Regions from separate parts of the Homo sapiens genome. Here all the other regions are linked to region 1. Evidence: promoter capture Hi-C in 16 types of primary human blood cells and fetal thymus (Javierre and others, 2016). All regions are on one chromosome and are shown on one strand. Each heading gives the region's core, a stretch centred on a gene start or on the middle of the fragment in contact. The rest is flanking DNA. Distances are from core to core; before and after follow the strand shown. Region 1 holds the start of APEX2 (apurinic/apyrimidinic endodeoxyribonuclease 2). Region 2 holds the start of TSPYL2 (TSPY like 2). Region 3 overlaps KANTR (KANTR integral membrane protein). Region 4 overlaps KDM5C (lysine demethylase 5C). Region 5 overlaps IQSEC2 (IQ motif and Sec7 domain ArfGEF 2). Region 6 holds the start of SMC1A (structural maintenance of chromosomes 1A). Region 7 overlaps HUWE1 (HECT, UBA and WWE domain containing E3 ubiquitin protein ligase 1).

Region 1 (2,610 bases), core at 75-2,574:
CCTTTTCCCCTATCTGCCTCCCTCACTAATTTAAAGTCCACAGAAAGCCCCATTTACCAGAATAGCCGCTACGGTTGCGGCTGAAGCTGAAATAGGAGTTATAACCCTCAACGATAGCCAGGGGCTCTGTCAGTGCATCCCCTGGAAAAAAAAAATGTAAGATTAAGTCAGAGGTAAAACTAGCATCCGAGAAACACAAAGGCCTGGAATTACAGTTGTAGGCTAATTCCTTGCACACATCAGAGCCAGAGTTGGGGGTGACGGGAATGAAATATCCATGATTAGAGGAGGACCTAGAAAGATGGGAAATGTCAGAGAGGAAATTGATATCAGAATTAGAAGGCTTGGTGGGGGGCGGTTAGAGACTATGAAGTGGAGGTGGAGAATTAGGTGGGAAGGGGAAAGAATCAGAGCTAAGCCTGGGGGTCTGAACGATAGGAGGAAGCTGGGGATGGGGATGGACATACGAGAGGATGGTGGGAATCTGAGCTAAGGGTGAGAGGTAAGAGAGAGGGAATTAGGGGATCTGAACTGGGGGTGGAGGGAAAAGGAATTAGGGGATTCTGAGGGGAGATAAGAGGGTGAAGAAATAAGAGGACATCTAAGCTTGGGGTGGGAAATGAGGTGGGAATTAGGGACTTTCCGCTGGGAGGAGAGATGGGAATAGATAAGGGGTACTGGGGTTCTGAGGTGGAAATGTGAAAAAGAGGAAATTAGACTGAGCTGGGGTCAAAGATGGGGTGGGAATTAGAGGATCTGAGCTTGGGGCAGGGATGAAGAATTCGGGGGTTTGACTTGGCGGCGGGGAGATGGACAGCGTATGGAAGGAGGAAATTCAGGGGACTGAGTTTGGGGCCGGAGAATGAGTGGGAATCTGACTAGATATGGGGTTTCGAGAAGGAGCTAAAGTTTGCTGAAGACAGGAGATGGAGTGCAATTAGGGGATCTAGCTAGGGTGGGAAATGGAAGTTTAAGAGGGAAGGGACCTGGGTCTAAGGACAGGACTCTAAGAATAGGAAACTGGGAAAGTAAAATTACATGGGACAGGGGACAAAAGTTAGCGGGAAAGAAAAAGTATGTAGGGATCCTGGAATCCAGAGCGCTCACTGGTCACTTTGGTTTCCTGGAGACAGACGATATCCGCATCCAGCTCGTCCAAAATGCGCCCCACGGCCACGGCGGCACAGTTGCTGGGTTCCTGATTTGCCACCCCTTGCAGGGGTCTCCGAATCCCATTGATGTTCCAGCTCACCACGCGCAACATCTTAAAGGGCTGGAACACCTCCCAGCCCGCGCCAACCTAGGCGCGAGCGAACTGCTTCCTGTTCAGAAGTTGGCCAGGCCCGCCTCCCGCGCGCGTTTGCGCAGGCGTTCTCGTGCGTACCACTAAAGCGCCTGACGCACGTCGGGCGGGGGCTTCAACTTCCTCAGCTCTCATTGGCGGGAGGAGGAACTGGGTGGACGCTGAAGGAAGCAAAGCGGAAGCCTAGGGGCAATGAATGGCGAGAGGAGTTTCCAGTTGGGCTCCCGCTCCTTCCGCTCGGACAGCTGAGTCTCAATGCGTTTTTCCTCTACTCAGAAGTCCAAGTGGTGCGTCCGGTTACTTACAAACGGCATTTTGCCACTTTTTAAGCGACGGAACCCTGAGCGGAACTGCTCAGCTGCCAAAGCCCCGCCCTCAGTGCGGCGGACCGCCCACCTAAGTTCACAGATGGCTGCAGCGCTTGCGCCCCAGGAATAGCTGGCGCTAAGTGCTCGCGTTGGACTGGGCAAAGGGAAGTTCATGGTTGGAGGAGGGAGCAGTAAGAGTCGCTCCACTGAGATAAGACTTAGGAGGAGGGCCTTTGGCTTTATTGGGGCAGAGGGGAGGAGGAGGAGGCTGTCTCAAGCCTGCCCTGTAGCTTTTGTCTTGGCTCTTAACATTCTGAAGGATGTAGCCGGACACATCCTTACTCTTGGTTCTGTTTCTCAGATAAGTGAAATCGAAGCCCAGGAAATGTAAGCTCGTGAGCAGCATTGTCTCCGGATGCATCCATGGCTCTTCTGTATATGTTATCTCATTTCATTCTCAAGACAACCCAGTTCGGGACATGGAGGCTAAGTTAGAGACGTCGAATGAATTCATTTCATTCTCACAGTTCACTCTCTCTTACACTGAAGTAGTAGAGCCAGGATTCACACCCTGTCTTAATTAGCTCAATAATTACTTTTCTGAGTGTTTTTACTGACCACACACCTCCCCAGTTAAGTCTTTTCCTCTGGGGCCCCACGGCACCCTATGGTCCATTCTGTCACAGTACTTATAATACACAGCTATCATTGACTTCTATTTCTGCTGCCATTAGAATGCCAGCAACTTGAGAGCAATGACCATGTCTGGTTCATCTTGTTAGCCCCATCCCCTAATACTGGACACAGCATATGTTGGGAAGCAATAGATATTTGTCAGGTGAATGAATGAACAAAGGATAATAGCAAGAGCATCGACAGGTTCATGGCTTGTTTTTGAGAGCACAAAAATTAGAAGTAATGGATATGCCCAATGTCCAGGGAAAAGCATAACGATGCATCTTTAGGTTCCTCACCCAGAATTGCAGCATAATTATTTGT
Region 2 (2,610 bases), core at 31-2,530, 1.9 Mb after region 1:
GTCCAATTTTTTTGCTGTGTGCCCCTTTACTACCCTCCCCCTTTTTATCATCTGTGATCCTTTTTTTAATGCTATGTTCCTCCTCTTCCCCCTTTCCCATCTGTGGTCCAGTTTTTATGTCCGCCCCCCCTCCACCACCCTTCATCATCTCCAGTCCAGCTTCTCTGCTGTTTTGCCCTCCTCCTTCCATCCCTCTTCCACCCAGTCTAGTCCGTCTTCCGATAGGGGGATCATGCCCACCTCTGGCTCTCCTCCACCCGCTTTACCTTTTCTGTCCCTCCCCCACCTTCCCCTTTCCTGTCACGGGCTTCTGACCTACGGAGTATCGATTAGAAGGATACTGCTTTGACCCAGAAGCCTGGGATATGCTGGATGATGAGGTCTCTGCGCTCCAGGAAGGGTCTTCGCATCTGGATGAACTTGCGCTTGAGACGCAGGAAGGCTTTGCCTGCCTTGATGTTCACTGCCTCCAGATCCAGCTGAATATCCTCCAGTGCCTGCAGGATGCTCTCCATCCTCTCGGCATTTCTCTCTCTGCTTTCCCTCTTCACCTTCCTCTGCTTCCTCCTCCGCCGCCGCCGCCGCCTCCTGCTGCTCCTCATACTCTCCCGCTCATCCTCATCCTCATCCTCCACTATGATGATCGCCTCTTCCTTGCTCTTCGGGTCAACTAACCTCTGGGGCGCCCACCCCACTGCGCTACAGGTTTCTAGGGCCCCCTCTCCACCAAAACTGCTCGACTGTACAACCTGAAAATCGATTTCCAGGCTCCCCCCCGAGGCCTCAGGAGTGGGGAGTGCTTCCAGGCTCTCCGTGGGCGGGGGCGCCTCCCCATACCCCGACTCGATGGTAGAATCCCAGCCGGGACACTCAGCACCGAGCGTGAAGTATGCGCGGATCCCCCCCTCCTCGAGAATGACATAGGGAGGCGGCGGGGGCAGCGCGGGGCCCAGTCCCACCCCCCTCATATCGGCCAGCACCTGTGCCGCCTCCGTTTCCTCCTGGAGCCTCGGGCGCTGCTGGGGTGGAGGCAGCGGCAGTCGGAGGAGCGGCGGCGGCGGCGGCGGCGGGGGCGGGTCGCGCTGTGGAGACTCGGAGCTGCTCAGGCGGCGGGTCTTGGCCGGAGGCCCCTCATCTGGGCGGTCCATGGCGACCGCGTTCGTACAGCTCAGGGGACTCGCACTCGCCCCTTCGCTTTTAGCCGCGTCGCTGCCGCTAGTCGCACCGGTAAGCAGAGCTGAGGAGACTCACGCAACCAGCTCTCCTCACCACCTCGCTCTGGCGTTCCCTCCCACAGCGCCCGCTCTACTCCCTCCGCGCCAATCGCCGAAGCCCCGCCCACTCCTGACGCAGGGGTCCGCTCGGCCTGGCCATTGGCTGCCGGCCGCCGCGGCGGCGATCGCGCTCCCGCGACCCCTGCCCGCTCTCACGCAATCCGCTTGCCAACACCACACATCATCAGTTTCCGATTGGCTCCCCTCGGGCCCGCCAATCAACGGGCTGACTCCCTCAGCGACGGGAGGGAAACTGCAGGGCGATTGGCTGCGAGGAAAGCTGGGGAAGAAGCCCCTCTCCCTCACCCTCTCAGCGTTTTATCCAATGGGAAAAGTACCAGTGGTTCTGAAGACCAAAAAACGAGACGAAAAACAAACGCAGGCGCTGAGCAGGATGTGCTCACATGAAATTGGAAGAGCCTCGTTATCGTTCCCCCCGCCCCCCTCCCCTCAGCAACTACGCACTTTTAAAATCTGCCCCTTCCCCCATTTCCTTCAGCTCCTTCCCCCACCCCCGCTTCTGCCCCTTCCCCCATCCCGGGTCCTGCCCCTTCCCCCATCCCAGCTCCTGCCCCTTCTCCCACCCCCGCTTCTGCCCCTTCTCCCATCCCCCACTGCTGCCCCTTTTTCCATCCCCGCTTCTGCCCCTTCCTCCACTCCCCGTTTCTGTCCCTTCCCCCACCCCCCGTTTCTGCCCCTTCCCCCATCCCCCGCTTCGGCCCCTTCCCCCACCCCACCCCCGCTTCTGCCCCTTCACCCCCCGCTTCTGCCCCTTCCTCCCCCGCTTCTGCCCCTTCCCTCACCCCCCCTTCTGCCCCTTCCCGCATTCCCTGCTTCTGACCCCCATCCCCCAACTGTCTCTTCCCTCACCCCCACTTCTGCCCCTTCCCCTATCCCCCAACTTCTGCCCCTTCCTTCACCCCCCAACCCCACTTCTGCCCCTTCCCTCACCCTCCCGCCCTCCGCTTCTGCCCTTCCCCTATCCCCCAACTTCTGCCCCTTCCCTCACACAACCCCTGCCCCCCGCCCCCCCGCTTCTGCCTCTTTTCCTACCTTCCACTTCTGCCCCTTCCCCCACCCCCCACGTTTGCCCCCTGGGTGAACTCTGCTGTAGCTCCTCGGGGGCTCGGGCTGCCCTACCGCCTGCGCCTGCAATTTAGGCACCCAGGGTGTTTGGTTTGGGGGCCAGGTTTTGACGTGGCGTTTTCCATCTCCGCAAAATGGCTCTACAAATAATAATCACACACACAAAAAAGTAACTTCCTCTGCGTCATAAAAATGATTGTGATTCAGCTCATCTGCTAGAATTTTCTAGCACTTTCTGTCTCTTCATTTC
Region 3 (2,610 bases), core at 29-2,528, 1.9 Mb after region 1:
ACTAAAAAATATAAAACTTAGCCAGGCATGGTGGCACATGCCTATAGTCCCAGCTACTCGGGAGGCTGAGGCATGAGAATTGCTTGAACCCAGGAGACGGGGGTGCAGTGAGCTGAGAACATGCCACTGCACTCCCGCTTGGGCAATACAGTGAGACTCTGTCTCCAAAAAAAAAAAAAGAAAGAAAAAAGAAAACCGTTAGAACAAATAAATTCAGTAAAGTTACAGGATACAAAATCAACATACAAAAATCAGTAGCACTTCTATACACTAACAACAAAGTATCTGAAAAAGAAATCAAGAAAGCAATCCCATTTACAATAGCTACAGAAAAAAAGTAAAATACTTAGGAATAACCGGGTGTAGTGGCTCACGCCTGTAATCCCAGCACTTTGGGAGGCCGAGGCGGGTGGATCACCTGAGGTCAGGGGTTTGAAGCCAGGCTGGCCAACATGGCGAAACCCCATCTCTACTAAAAATACAAAATTAGCAGGGTGTGGTGGCACACATCTGTAATCCCAGCTACTCGGGAGGCTGAGGCAGGAGAATCGTTTGAAACTGGGAGGCGGAGGTTGCAGTGAGATGAGATCGCGCCACTGCATACTCCAGCCTGGGCAACAAGAGCGAAACTCCATCTCAAAACAAAAACAAAAACAAAACAACAAAAAACAAACTTAGGAATAAATTTAACCAAGGAGGTAAAAGACGTGTACCCTGAAAACAGTAAGACATTGATGAATGAAACTGAAGATGATACAAATACATGGAAAGATACCCTGTGGTCATGAATTGGAAAAATTAGTATTGTTTAAATGTCCACACTACTCAAAGTGATCTACAAATTTAATGCAATCTCTATAAAAGTTCCATGTCATTTTTTACAGAAAAATACTAAAATTTGTATAAACCACAAAAGACACCAAATAGCCAAAGTAATCTGGAGCAAAAAGAACAAAGCTGGTAATCCCAGCACTTTGGGAGGCTGAAGTGAAAGGACTGCTCGAATCTAGGAGTTTGAGACCAGCCTGGACAACATAGTGAGACCCTTGTCTCCACAAAAAAATTAAAAATCAGCTGGGTGTGGTGGTGTGCACCTGTAGTCCTACATACTTTGGAGGCTGAGATGGGAGGACTGCTTGAGCCCGAGAGTTCGAGGTTGCAGTGAGCTATGATCACACCGCTGCGCTGCAGCCTGGGTTACAGAGCGAGACCCTGCCTCAAAAAAAAAAAGGCATTCAGACAGGAAAGAAAAAAGTGAAACTATCTCTATTTAGAGATAACATGATCTTGTATATTTAAAAATCCCAAGGAATCCACCAAAAAACTATTTGAACTAATAAACAAGTTCAGCAATGTCATATGATAGAGGATCAATAAACAAAAATCTATTGTATTTCTATGCACTAGCAATGAACAATCAAAAAATGAAATTAAGGGCTGGGTGCAGTGGTTCATGCCTATAATCCCAGCACTTTGGGAGGCTGAGGTCGGGTGGATTACTTGAGGCCAGGAGTTCGAGACCAGCCTGGCCAACATGGCAAAACCCCATGGCTACTAAAAATACAAAAATTAGCTGGGTGTGGTAGTATGCACCTGTAGTCCCAGCTGCTTGGGAGGCTGAGGCACAAGAATTGCTTGAACCCGGGAGGTGGAGGTTGCAGTGAGCTGAGATCACGCCACTGCACTCCAGCCTGGGTGACAGAGTGGGACTCTGTCTCAAAAAAAAAAAAAATTAAGAAAAAATTTGAAGGCCAGGCACGGTGGCTCACGCCTGTAATCCTAGCACTTTGGGAGGCCGAGGCGGGCAGATCATGAGGTCAGGAGTTTGAGACCAGCCTGGCCAACATGGTGCAACCCCGTCTCTACTAAAAATACAAAAAATTAGCTGGGTGTAGTGGCTGGTGCCTATAATCCCAGCTACTCTGGAGGCTGAGGCAGGAGAATCGCTTGAACCCAGGAGGCGGAGGTTGCAATGAGCCAAGAGCGCCCCACTGCACTCCAGCCTGGGTGACAGAGTGAGACTCCGTCTCAGAAAAAAGAAAAAAAGAAAAAGTCCAGCTAGGTGCAGTGGTTCACACCTGTAATCCCATGAGTTCAAGGCTGCTGTGGGCTATGATGGAGCCATTGCACTCTAGTTTGAGCAACAGAGCAAGACCTTGTCTCTAGAAAACAAACCCCTGACTCTGAGATAAAAGCATGAGGAAATTAAAAATTATTTTAATTTAAAAATTTTTAAAAATTAAAAAACATCCCATTTTAAAGTAGTATCAAAAAGAATAAAATGCCTAGGAATAAATTTAACAAAGGAACTGCAAGACTTGTATACTGAAAACTATAAAACACTCCTGAAAGAAATTAAACATCTAAATAAATCCCAAGTTCACAGACTAGAAGACAATATTGTTAAATGGCAATACTCCCCAAGTTGATATATAGATTCAACATAATCTCTATGAGAATTTCAGCTGTTTTTTTTTTTAAAGAAATTGATAAACTGCTGAGTTTGGTAGATCATGCCTGTAATCCCAGCACTTTGGGAGGACGAGGCAGGAGGATTGGTTGAAGCCAGGAATTTGATATCAGCCTGGGCTACAAAGCAAGACCCTGTCT
Region 4 (2,610 bases), core at 111-2,610, 1.8 Mb after region 1:
CAGCCACAGATCTAGGATGGTTTCAGATAGATCCTCTAGGAGGTGTTGGGTAAGCGAATTTCTTCCTTCTTGGAGTCTGGCCACAGATTTCTGAGGTATCCTTGTCCATGGTGAGGGAGTGGCAGTGGGTAGAGGGTCAGGAAGGCTAGTGGAAGGGAGAGGCAGGAGTCCTGGGCAGCCTCAAGGAGGCACTCCCTGAAGTGGTTGGGCAAGCCTGTGGGAAAAAGAGGCATAGCTGACGTAGGGGGTAGTTGAGGCCTGAATTCCTTTTTTCTATCTTGGACTGACTTAGGCAGGCTGGCCTTGTGTAGGTGTTGTTACCCTGCTTTGGGGCATCAGGAAGGGGAAGAGTGACATGTCCCAGGTGTGCATGGCCAGCAGGAGGCCGTCCTTTTCACTGCTCAACAGTGTGCTTCTCTCTAATCCAGGATACCTGGCTCTCTGGTTTGGTTTTGTTTTTTCCTTCTCTATGGCAGCTCCTAGGCCACCTTTAGGCAGCTGGCCTTCTTCTGGTTGAAGTTTGAAGTACTCGCTCAAGTGATGCTTGGGCCCAGGGTGGGAACCTGTATATGGGTGGGTACCTGGGAATTGGAGGTTTGCTGGAGGAAGGATGGTTTGGGGCCTGAATTGCTGGGCAGGTGACTGCTACGCTTGGGAAAGATGGGTGGGAGGAGAGTGTGGGTACCCTGAGTAGACCCAGTGGAGTTTGGAAGGATCTTGCTTTCTTCATCAGGTAGCCAGCCTTTTTTTTATCACCACATCCCAGTAATACCAACATACATTTGGCATACAGTAGTCTGGAGATGAAGGCAGGCGGTTTGCAGGGCCTTCCCAGGTATCTGTTGCATCCATGGCTCCTGCCGTAGCATTCCAGGGCTGCCATTTCCTGTCAGGTGCTTGATGTTGCACTGATTGTCTAGAACTTGATTCAGCAGGAAAGAAGGGTGCCCGGAGTTTTGGGTTTGAGCACCTTTTTAGCTGGGTTACCTGTGCTGAGGGGAGTGCCCTATCCTGATGAGAGGCAAGAGGGCATGGGGAGCTTGTCTGGATTTGAGCCATACCATTTTGGCCTGCCTGTTTTTTTTTTTTTTTGTCCCTGCTTACTGAGCCCCAGATGTTTGCCACCTGCTTTGGCTGGTAGGGGCAGGGGAGTGTGGTCTGTGTATGCATGCAAAATATGAGTCCTCTAGCCCATTTTCTAAAAGTGTGTGTGCAGAAGAGGTCAACAGTTTTTCTTCTCTTTCACTGTCTCTCCCCCCCGCCCACGTGTATGCATGTATGTATGAACATTGATGTCTGGTGTAGTGCAAAGGCCTTGGATCAGAGGTCAGAAGACGTGGGTTCTTGGCCCCACCACTAACTCAGCATGTAATTTTGGAAATTTCACTTTTTTTCTCTGAGCCTCACTTTCCCCATTTATAAAATGAGAACATTGGTTTAGGTTACTTTAGGTTGATTTCACCACCCCAGCAGGAGCCAGGGCTCTGGGAAGGAGAGGTCTGCATAGGAGGTTGGAAAGGGGTGTTGGAGAGGGGGTTCTTCACAGCTGACCTTTGGGCAGGACACAGCAAGCTCCAACTTGGCAGAGCAGAGTGTCTCCCACTTTCATGATCTTTCCCTGACTTCCCTCCCCAAATCCTCCCATTCTTTGCCACCACAGTCAGGCATCCCAGCACTTACCCCCACCCCCTGGGGCTTCCTCCCCTGCCTCTTCCTGTACCAGGCAGGTGTATGAGAGAGGATCTACAGGAAGCCTTCCAGACTGGGTGAGTGATACACATACTTGCTCCCTGTTCCTTGCTCTTCCCTGCAGTGTCTATCTCAGGCCCTTTAAACTGAGAGAACAAACATTAAAGGCCCAAACCTTTACGTCCTGCCACAATCGGACCTGAGCTACCCTGCATGTGTATTGTGAGGTGTGGTCAGCCTTAGATGTCAGGTCATAACGGTGACTCCTTTGAATAACATTTTCATTTGAAAACTAGTTTTAATTTTCCATATTGGTCTGGCAAGGAAGCCAGGGCTAGAGTTCATATTCCCACCTCACAGATGAGAAAACAGGTTCAGAAAGCTAAAATCTCATAGCTAGTAAGTAGCGGATCTAGAACATGAACCCATATCTTCTGACTCTAGATCCTGTGTGCTTTCCAGTACTCCCAGGCCTGTGTGTCCTACAGCACGTGCCTAGGGGATAAGGAATTAATGTGGGTGTGGAGAAGGTTTAGGGTCAACAAAACAGAGGCTCCATCTCTTAATTTCTTGAAATCCTGGCACTGTACTGTTGGGTGGGACTCAGGAGAAGTTTCCTAGGGCATGTGCATGGGGCCTTGGGTGCAGACTTGAGGGGCTGCTAGACTCTTGTGAGTTCTGGGGGGAGGTGGGGGTGGGTGGTTGGGTAGGATGTTTGCAGGTTAAAGGGTCTGGAGTGGCTAGAGGTTTGGGAAGGTGCCAGTGGGATTCCGAGCTGCTTTTGGTGACTTCCGGTCTTACACTATGCTGAGATAACTCAAGTCCCTTTCCCCTCTCTACCCTCTCAGGACTGGCAGCCACCCTTTGCTGTGGAAGTGGACAACTTCAGGTTTACCCCCCGAATCCAGAGGCTGAATGAGC
Region 5 (2,610 bases), core at 68-2,567, 1.7 Mb after region 1:
GTCCCTGTCATCTCTTTTTCTTTCTTTCTTTCTTTTTCTTTTTCTTTTTTTTTTTTTTTTTTGAGCCGGATACTTGCTCTGTCGCCCAGGCTGGAGTGCAATGCCATGATCTTGGCTCACTGCAACCTCCACCTCCTGGGTTCAAGCGATTCTCCTGCCTCAGCCTCCCAAGTAGCTGGGACTACAGGCGTGTGCCACCACACCCAGCTAATTTTTGTATTTTTAGTAGAGATGGGGTTTCACCATTTTGGCCAGGATGGTCTCGATCTCTTGACCTCGTGATCCCCCCTCCTCGGCCTCCCAAAGTGCTGGGATTATAGGTGTGAGCCACCGCGCCCAGCCTATCATCTCTTTTTCATGGACTTCTCTCTCTGGACCAGCTTCCTCTGCTTGCCCATGGCCTGACATGGCCACCAACCTGGAAGCTATGTGACCTTTTCCAGCTTCAGGATCTGCCCCTCCTGCCATTGGACTGCAGTGATCCTCCAGCCTGTGGTAACACAAGGCAGCAAGGGGCCGTGTGAGATAATTGATTCCCTCAGAATTGGATGAGAGGAGAGAGAGAAAACACTTGGTACTTCTTGTTTCTTCTGCAGTAAGCACAGTTTTTATGTGTACCCAAGTGAGGTCAGAGCTGGTCGGCTCAGAGGCAAACACTTGTAAGATTGTTTTTGGTTCCTATTTTATAGCAAGATGACCTTTGCTCACTGTGCTTTCAAGTTCCATATCCTTGCATCAAAACATGCTGTTTTGTCTAAAAGTGCCCTCTTATTTTATGCCGAAAAAGCTTTTAAATGTACAGTGAATATTACCATTGCTACCAGCTTGTGGTAATTTTTCATAACCTCAGAACAACTGGTATAAAGCTACTGATGGTACAGCTGCTACCCAGCTCTTGGTGGCCTCAGGAATTTTGATATTTTATGAGTTCAGTGACTGAATTTATAGTTACCTCCAGTATATAATTACAAGTACACATTATCAATGTTATCAGCTTGATGCTGGAGCTTACTTTTCCACTAATACAAACCCTGCAGGTTTTACATTAATTACAGAGGGAACTAATGACCCCTTAGACAAGTTTTCACCTATGAATAAAGAGTTAGGAATCAGCTGTGCCAGTAATGACTGTTCTCCAGACACAGGAGCGATGTCCACAGCTCTGGCCTTGGCCCTGACCTCGCATCCTCTGGCCGAGACTAGGGGCTTCCCATCACCTCCTCAGAGGCCTCCTGACTCTGGCCTGGCACACAGCAGGTGCTGTTATTTTTAATAAAATTGATAGTTTTATGATTGCTATTAAAGCCATCTTCCATATCTAAATGGTAAACCTAAGTGAGAGAGATTATCCCAGGTTCTGGGCAGTCTCCTTCAACTCCTCCCCCTGCCCTTTTCTCACTGTTCCAAATAGTAATAATTGCTTTGAGTCAGAAAATGTCTGCTAAATATCAGGTACTATTACAGAGCACTGGAGACACATTATCTTTAATCTTTGTGGCCACCCTGCCAAGTAGGGGTGACTTACAGGTGGGGAAACTGAAACCTAGAGAGGTAAAATGACTTGCCCCAAATTGTCCATCCACACATCCATTCATTTATTCCTTCATTCAAGGATTTATTGAGTGCCTACAATGTGCCAGATGCTGCTAAATGTGGCTGATAGGGTGGTGAGTAACAGCCCTGCTGTGATGAAGCCCACTGTCTGGTCAGGAAATAGACAAGGAGACAGACAATTACAGACAATTATAGGGGAAGTGCAGGGTGCTGTGGGAGCACCACGGAAATATACCCAACCCAGCCTGAGGGCCAGGGAGGCTTCTCCAAGCTGACATCTAAGTGGAAGCTTGGAGCATGAGTAGAAGTTAGCCAGGGGAGGGGTTGGGTGGGGCAAAGTGAAGTGAAGAGTGTTGCAGGCCAGAACTGCGAGAAGAGTGTTTGGCACCCACGTTTGTGAAGAACTAAAGGAGTATCTGCAGTGAGATGGCACTGTCATGAGAAACGGTCTCATCTGGAAAGGGAGCAGAAGGTTTATCGGGAGGCTGGAACTGTGGCCCTGGTTGCTTAAGTCCAGAGCTGAGGAGCTGCAGGACCCAGTAACAGTTTCCATGTGACAATTGTGGGCCTGGGAGCCTCCTGGGTCGGCCTGGCCAACAGCAGGCTGGGATTCTAGTGGCCACAGTGCCCTCTAGTGTCCACTGGCCCACCTTGCAGCCTCCACCTCTGTCCATTGTCCCCCCACCATGTGTGACCAGGTGCCCGGTGCTGAGTGCTGGGGACACTGGGATGAACAAGACACAGCTCTCACAGAGCTCCCGACAGAGAAGGGGCAGCAGGCATCTGAACACAGTGTTGAGAGAAGCCGGCTGAGAAAAGAGCAGGGCGGAAGGACACAAGGGAGGTGACCCAACCTGCTTGGGTGGGGTCAAGGCAGGTTCCCAGAGGGCACAACATCTAGCTGACTTTTGAAGAACAAGGGGGAGCCAGCCAGGTGGGGAGATGACAGTGGGGGCACAGCGGGACAACAGAGGTACTATTACAGAGCATTTGACACACATTCTCTTTAATAAGGCTTGGAGCAGCAGAGTGTAGCTGAGAGAGTTGCAGGTGCTT
Region 6 (2,610 bases), core at 111-2,610, 1.6 Mb after region 1:
CAGTAATTGTTCCCACCCCGGGGCCTTTGTATGTGCTGTTCCTTTGTTTGGAGCGTGATTCTTTAATTCCTCCTATAGCTATTTGGATCTTTTTGGTGTTTTGTTTTGTTTTCCATTTTGTAACTGTGAAGTAGTTGAACATATATGCCCGGCTGATTTTTGTATTTTTAGTAGAGATGGGGTTTCACAGTGTTAGCCAGGATAGTCTCAATCTCCTGACCTTATGATCCACCCTCCTTGGCCTCCCAAAGTGCTGGGATTACAGGCATGAGCCACCACACCTGGCCCCATTTAATTTTTTTTAATATAGATGGGGTCTCACTATATTGCCCAAGCTAGTCTTGAACTCAAGCAATTCTCCTGCCTCGGCCTCCCAAAGTGCTGGTATTACAGGCATGAGCCATTGTGCCCGGCGTCACTTAGGTTTTTAATCCACTTGGAGTTGCATTTTGTGTATGGTGTGAGATAAGGATCCAATTTAATTTTCCCCCCAAGTGCCATCTCATCTTTTTTAAATTTAAAATTTTATTTTATTTTTGGCCGGGCGCGGTGGCTCACGCCTGTAATCCCAGCACTTTGGGAGGCCGAGGCAGGTGGATCAGGAGGTCAGGAGTTCAAGACCAGCCTGGCCAACATAGTGAAACCCTGTCTTTACTAAAAATACAAAAAAATTAGCCAGGCGTGGCAGTGGGCACCTGTAATCCTAGCTACTTGGAAGGCTGAGGCAGAGAATAAAATTTATTTTATTTTTAATTTGTTTTAGATGGGGTCTCTCTCTGTTGCCCAGGATGGAGTGTAGTGGTGCAATCATGGCTCACTGCAGCCTCAAACTCCTGGGCTCAAAGGATCTTCCTGCCCCAGCCTCCTGAGTAGCTGGGACTACAGGTGTGTGCCACCATGCCTGCCTAATTTTTAAAATTTTTTTGTAGAGATTGGGTTTTGCTATGTTACCCAGGCTCACCATCTCATCTTTTAAAAGGGAACAGTATTTCCCCATGGATTACATGAGATTGCTGTCTTTTAGCCATTTTATCCCCTCAGCCTGATTGTTTCTCCCAGCTGAACTTCATTTATGGCTCCCCTACTAGATTCCATCTACCAAGCTTCCTCCCTTTATTTATTTTTGAGACAGGGTATTGCTCTGTCACCTAGGCTGGAGTGAAGTGGTGCGGACACCACTCACTACAGCCTCAACCTCCCAGGCTCAAGTGATCCTCCTGCTTCGGCATCCTGGGTAGACCAGAGGTGAGAGCTGCCACACCCAGCTAATTTTTTAATTTTTAGTAGAGATAGGGTCTCACTATGTTGCCCAGGCTGGTCTTGAACTGCTGGTCTCAAGTGATCCTCCTGCCTTGGCCTGCCTCCCTCACGATGGGATTACAGTTGTCAGCCACCATGCCCAGCCACTTCCTCACTTTCCTGGACTTGTCCTAAGTCTTTAGGACTCTTTCTAGCCTTCGGACATAATTTAATAAATAGTTAAAGGAATAATTATGGCAACCACCAGATCCTTTCCATGTTTAAGTCTGAGAATGGCACCAACTTACCTACTGGTTTCACCTGCCATTACAGTATAAGGTCACTGAAGGGGAAGATTCAGCTGACATTTTAAGCTTCTTGGATTGCTAAGGCCCCTGCCTTATTAATGATAGAGAGCAGAGAGGGAAGAGAGGTAAGGTGGCATTGTGGTATAGAGCTGTGGGAATGGGATGGGGGAGAGGCATGGAGGCAGAGGTAGGTGGAGGTGGAGAGCGCTGGCTTAGGGACCCTGACTCCTGGGGGTTCACACAAAATACCTTTCTCAGTAAGGAATCCCGATTTTGAAGCTCTTAGGTTGGCTCTGCATGCAACTTTGTTCTTGGGTTACGGCGGCAGTTTCTGAACTCTGCTTGGTACAACAGGAGGGAGGCAGGGGATAGGGGTAGTATCTCAGGCCGTAGCCTTCCCCAGCCTGTATCCCTGTTGCCTGGGAGTAGCCCCAGTCCCATTCACAACCCGTCCGCCTTCGCAACCCGTCCCGCCACCAATCCCACCCCACCATTAGCAAAGTCTGAGCTCACCTAACACTGAATCCTCCCGTTGGCCCCTCCTTCCCGTCCAGCTCTCCGCTCCCCCCGGGTCCTTCCAATTCCCGACCCTGTCCTTGTCCTAGCCTTGAAAGCTGGCCAGGCTAAAGCCACAGCCGAGCTCCCACCTTCCTCTTGCCCTGAGGGGCATAATCCTGCTGTGACTTCTGTCTCAGCAAGCGTGAGCTCAGGTCTCCCCCGCCTCCTTGAACCTCAAGAACTGCTCTGACTCCGCCCAGCAACAACTCCTCCGGGGATCTGGTCCGCAGGAGCAAGTGTTTGTTGTTGCCATGCAACAAGAAAGGGGGGCGGAGGCACCACGCCAGTCGTCAGCTCGCTCCTCGTATACGCAACATCAGTCCCCGCCCCTGGTCCCACTCCTGCCGGAAGGCGAAAATCCCGTTAGGCCTGGACGTATTCTCGCGACATTTGCCGGTCGCCCGGCTTGCACTGCGGCGTTTCCCGCGCGGGCTACCTCAGTTCTCGGGCGTACGGCGCGGCCTGTCCTACTGCCGCCGGCGCCGCGGCCGTCATGGGGTTCCTG
Region 7 (2,610 bases), core at 81-2,580, 1.3 Mb after region 1:
CTGGCCCCTCCTATTCAAGGTGTTCAAGGTTCTGTTGTAACCTTAGTAACCTATAATAAGTATTCCTAATAGTCATCAGTATCACCACTGTTAACACATTTGGGCAGCACCATGCATGGCAGGTCAGCAAACAGGTAAATCTTATTTTTTTAAACATTACACATAATATCTAAAGTATAGTTTGTGGCATGTAATAAGTGCTGCTGAATAAATGGAAGTCATTGTTCAGTTTTTAGCTTAATATATCTTTTTTTTTCTTTTAACATAACATTTACTGAATGTTGCTAAGTATAAGGAGTAAGGGACATAAAATGAATGAGACTTGGTCTCTGCCCTTGAGAAACTCACAGTCGAGTTAAGGACTGTGAAATCATGTTTAAAGTTCCTTAGCCTTTTCCTTTGTGTCATCATTTCTTCCCCTGCACTGTCTATGCATGATATAGCCTGTCCATTGTTTCTCACAGCTTTCCTAATTCTGTGTGCCTCCCCAGCCTTTGAGACTGCTGATATGTGAGAAAGCCAACAATTGTCTTCTATTAATACAGGGTAATATCAAGAAAAACCTTTGGGCCAATATTGGATTTCAGAGTGGCATGTGCAGTTGACATTACAATACCAGTTTATGGTCTTTAGATGGGCCTGTACACCTGGGCTCCAGCCTCTTTCCTGTGCCTTTAAACTGCCTTACTTCCATCTTTCCTCCCCTATACCCTACCCTTAATGTACTTGGTACATAAAAATAGAGGCTCCCATACCCAGGTAGTGATCAAGTACAATGTAAAGAAACAGCTGTACTTCATATAAACTAGGATTCGAGTGGGCCTAGGGTATATCACTAAATTTCCATTCTTATCTATAAAACAGTAATCGGAAAGCCTATTTCATAGGTTGCTGTGAGCATTAAAGCGAGATGATGTATTTTTAAATGCTTGTAAAGTACGAAGATAAGGTCATTATAATTTATATAAAATACTTAGTAGCTATGTTACTTGGGGCAAATTACCTCATCACTGAGCCAGTTTCCTCATCCTTTAAATGAAGATGGTGATATTCATTTAACAAATATTTATTGAGGACGTAGTCATTGCAGCTACATCCTGGGAATACAAAGATAAGTGACTGGAGAATGTAGGACAGTGTGGTCTAGGGGAAGGAGACTTGCAAATCACACAAAAGGGTCAGTATGGTAATATGAGGAATGAACAAAATGTGCTATAGCAGTTTACAAGAAGGCATCAGAGAATGTCACAGAGTTTTGTTAGGGTTAAGCAAGATAAATGAAAAGTACTTCATGAATTCAAAAATGCTATACAAATAAGTTAGTTAAACGTACCCCAAATGAATCAATAGTCTCAAACCATTATTGTTTCATTTCTTCACAAGACTTACTCTTTAGATGCATTTATTTCTTTGAGCTAGATTTTATGACCTCCTTAAGGGTAACCTGTAGTAGAGTATCCTGAAAGTTAATGCTTTTGTCTAAAAGGATTTTTTTCATCCATTTTATCATTTTCTAGTTTTTAATCACTGAATTCAGGAAAAACTAGAAAATGTGTGCATATTTGGGGAGAGGATATACATAATTCCACCACAATGTTTAGTCACTGTTAACATTTTGGTGTATTCACATCTTAATGATAAGGGTAGTGTTTAAGGAATAAGAAAAGAAATCTAGTAGGAAATTTTAAGGATAGGCATTTCCCAGAATAGGAAACTAAAAACGTCCACTAACAAGAAATGGTACTCAAACTAATAATCAGAAATGCAAATTTAAATAAGGTCATTTTTAGTCATTAGATTGATAAAAAATAATTTGATAATATCAAGTCATCGTAAAAGGTATAAGGAAGAGTCTGGCCTTATAATACTGCCTACAAGTGGCGTAAATTGATACAGCTATTTTGGAGGCAATTTTGGCAAGTTGCAAGAGAGTACATACTATGTGATGCTATTTATGTTTTAAAAAAAACCATGGCAAACTGACAACTTTATTTGGGAGGAGGGATCGTGGGGAACTTTACCTTTTTCTGTAATATGTGCATTTCTACTTCTGAAAAATATACTGAGAAGTACAGAGAATAATACAACAATCCCTGTCCCTACCCCCACTCCAGAATTGATCATTTTTAACATTTATTTTTGCCTTACATTTTTTTGTGGAGTTGGAAGTAACACAAGTTGAGTGTCCCTAATCCAAAATTCAAAATGCCCCAAAATGAGTTTCAACACGATGCCACAAGTGGAAAATTCTACGCCTAAGTACTTAACACTTTGTTTCATGAGCAGAATTATTAAAAATATTGTATAGGGTACAACGAACATTATTTGGGTGATGGTTACACTAAATGTCTAGACTTCACTACTGCACAATATACCCATGTAACAGAACTGTACTTGTGCCACCTAAATTTATACGAGAAATTGTGTAAAATTACCTTCAGGCTGTATGTATAAGGTGTGTATGGAACATGAATGGATTTCATGTTTAAACTTGAGCCGCATCCTCAAGATGTCTCATGATGTATAGGCAGATATTCAAGAATCTGAAATCTGAAATCCTGCTGGTCCCAAGCACTGGATAGGAGATACTTAACCTGTATAGGTAAACAG

What was found. The method cuts DNA at HindIII sites, captures the fragments that hold promoters and counts their contacts. A CHiCAGO score of 5 or more calls a contact.
Region 2: the fragment with the promoter of TSPYL2 here is called in contact with the fragment with the promoter of APEX2 in region 1 in 1 of 17 cell types (monocytes); the score reaches 5.9 in monocytes.
Region 3: a fragment that was not itself captured here is called in contact with the fragment with the promoter of APEX2 in region 1 in 1 of 17 cell types (neutrophils); the score reaches 5.5 in neutrophils.
Region 4: a fragment that was not itself captured here is called in contact with the fragment with the promoter of APEX2 in region 1 in 9 of 17 cell types (neutrophils, total B cells, total CD8 T cells and 6 more); the score reaches 9.6 in neutrophils.
Region 5: a contact is called between a fragment that was not itself captured here and the fragment with the promoter of APEX2 in region 1, in 1 of 17 cell types (fetal thymus). The highest score is 5.8, in fetal thymus.
Region 6: a contact is called between a fragment that was not itself captured here and the fragment with the promoter of APEX2 in region 1, in 1 of 17 cell types (naive B cells). The highest score is 6.1, in naive B cells.
Region 7: a contact is called between a fragment that was not itself captured here and the fragment with the promoter of APEX2 in region 1, in 4 of 17 cell types (neutrophils, naive CD4 T cells, fetal thymus and 1 more). The highest score is 8.0, in neutrophils.

What each region holds. Positions count from the first base shown.
Region 1 is chrX:54,999,077-55,001,686 of GRCh38, reverse strand. It overlaps APEX2 (apurinic/apyrimidinic endodeoxyribonuclease 2), which reads right to left and starts at 1,324. Exons shown (of 6, transcript NM_014481.4): 1 at 1,108-1,324; 2 at 58-141. The coding sequence starts at 1,264. RefSeq lists a silencer at 1,304-1,443. The HindIII fragment of the contact is 4,396 bases long and covers 609-2,610 here.
Region 2 is chrX:53,081,037-53,083,646 of GRCh38, reverse strand. It overlaps TSPYL2 (TSPY like 2), which reads right to left and starts at 1,280. Exons shown (of 7, transcript NM_022117.4): 1 at 342-1,280. The coding sequence starts at 1,148. RefSeq lists silencers at 906-955, 986-1,035, 1,306-1,415. The HindIII fragment of the contact is 18,116 bases long and covers 1-2,610 here.
Region 3 is chrX:53,107,328-53,109,937 of GRCh38, reverse strand. The region is part of intron 2 of KANTR (KANTR integral membrane protein); the gene reads right to left. Among named protein-coding and RNA genes, the nearest start is that of KANTR, 14 kb to the right of the region's middle. The HindIII fragment of the contact is 8,249 bases long and covers 1-2,610 here.
Region 4 is chrX:53,220,844-53,223,453 of GRCh38, reverse strand. It overlaps KDM5C (lysine demethylase 5C), which reads left to right. Exons shown (of 26, transcript NM_004187.5): 2 at 2,538-2,610. Among named protein-coding and RNA genes, the nearest start is that of KDM5C, 3.1 kb to the left of the region's middle. The HindIII fragment of the contact is 2,841 bases long and covers 1-2,610 here.
Region 5 is chrX:53,284,392-53,287,001 of GRCh38, reverse strand. The region is part of intron 2 of IQSEC2 (IQ motif and Sec7 domain ArfGEF 2); the gene reads left to right. Among named protein-coding and RNA genes, the nearest start is that of IQSEC2, 36 kb to the left of the region's middle. The HindIII fragment of the contact is 1,056 bases long and covers 790-1,845 here.
Region 6 is chrX:53,422,589-53,425,198 of GRCh38, reverse strand. SMC1A (structural maintenance of chromosomes 1A) reads left to right here and starts at 2,545. Exons shown (of 25, transcript NM_006306.4): 1 at 2,545-2,610. The coding sequence starts at 2,599. It overlaps RIBC1 (RIB43A domain with coiled-coils 1), which reads right to left and starts at 2,326. Exons shown (of 8, transcript NM_001031745.5): 1 at 2,195-2,326; 2 at 1,797-1,885. RefSeq lists enhancers at 2,238-2,287, 1,442-2,413, 2,578-2,610, 2,414-2,610. The HindIII fragment of the contact is 510 bases long and covers 1,106-1,615 here.
Region 7 is chrX:53,673,282-53,675,891 of GRCh38, reverse strand. All of the region lies in intron 3 of HUWE1 (HECT, UBA and WWE domain containing E3 ubiquitin protein ligase 1), which reads left to right. Among named protein-coding and RNA genes, the nearest start is that of HUWE1, 12 kb to the left of the region's middle. The HindIII fragment of the contact is 9,468 bases long and covers 1-2,610 here.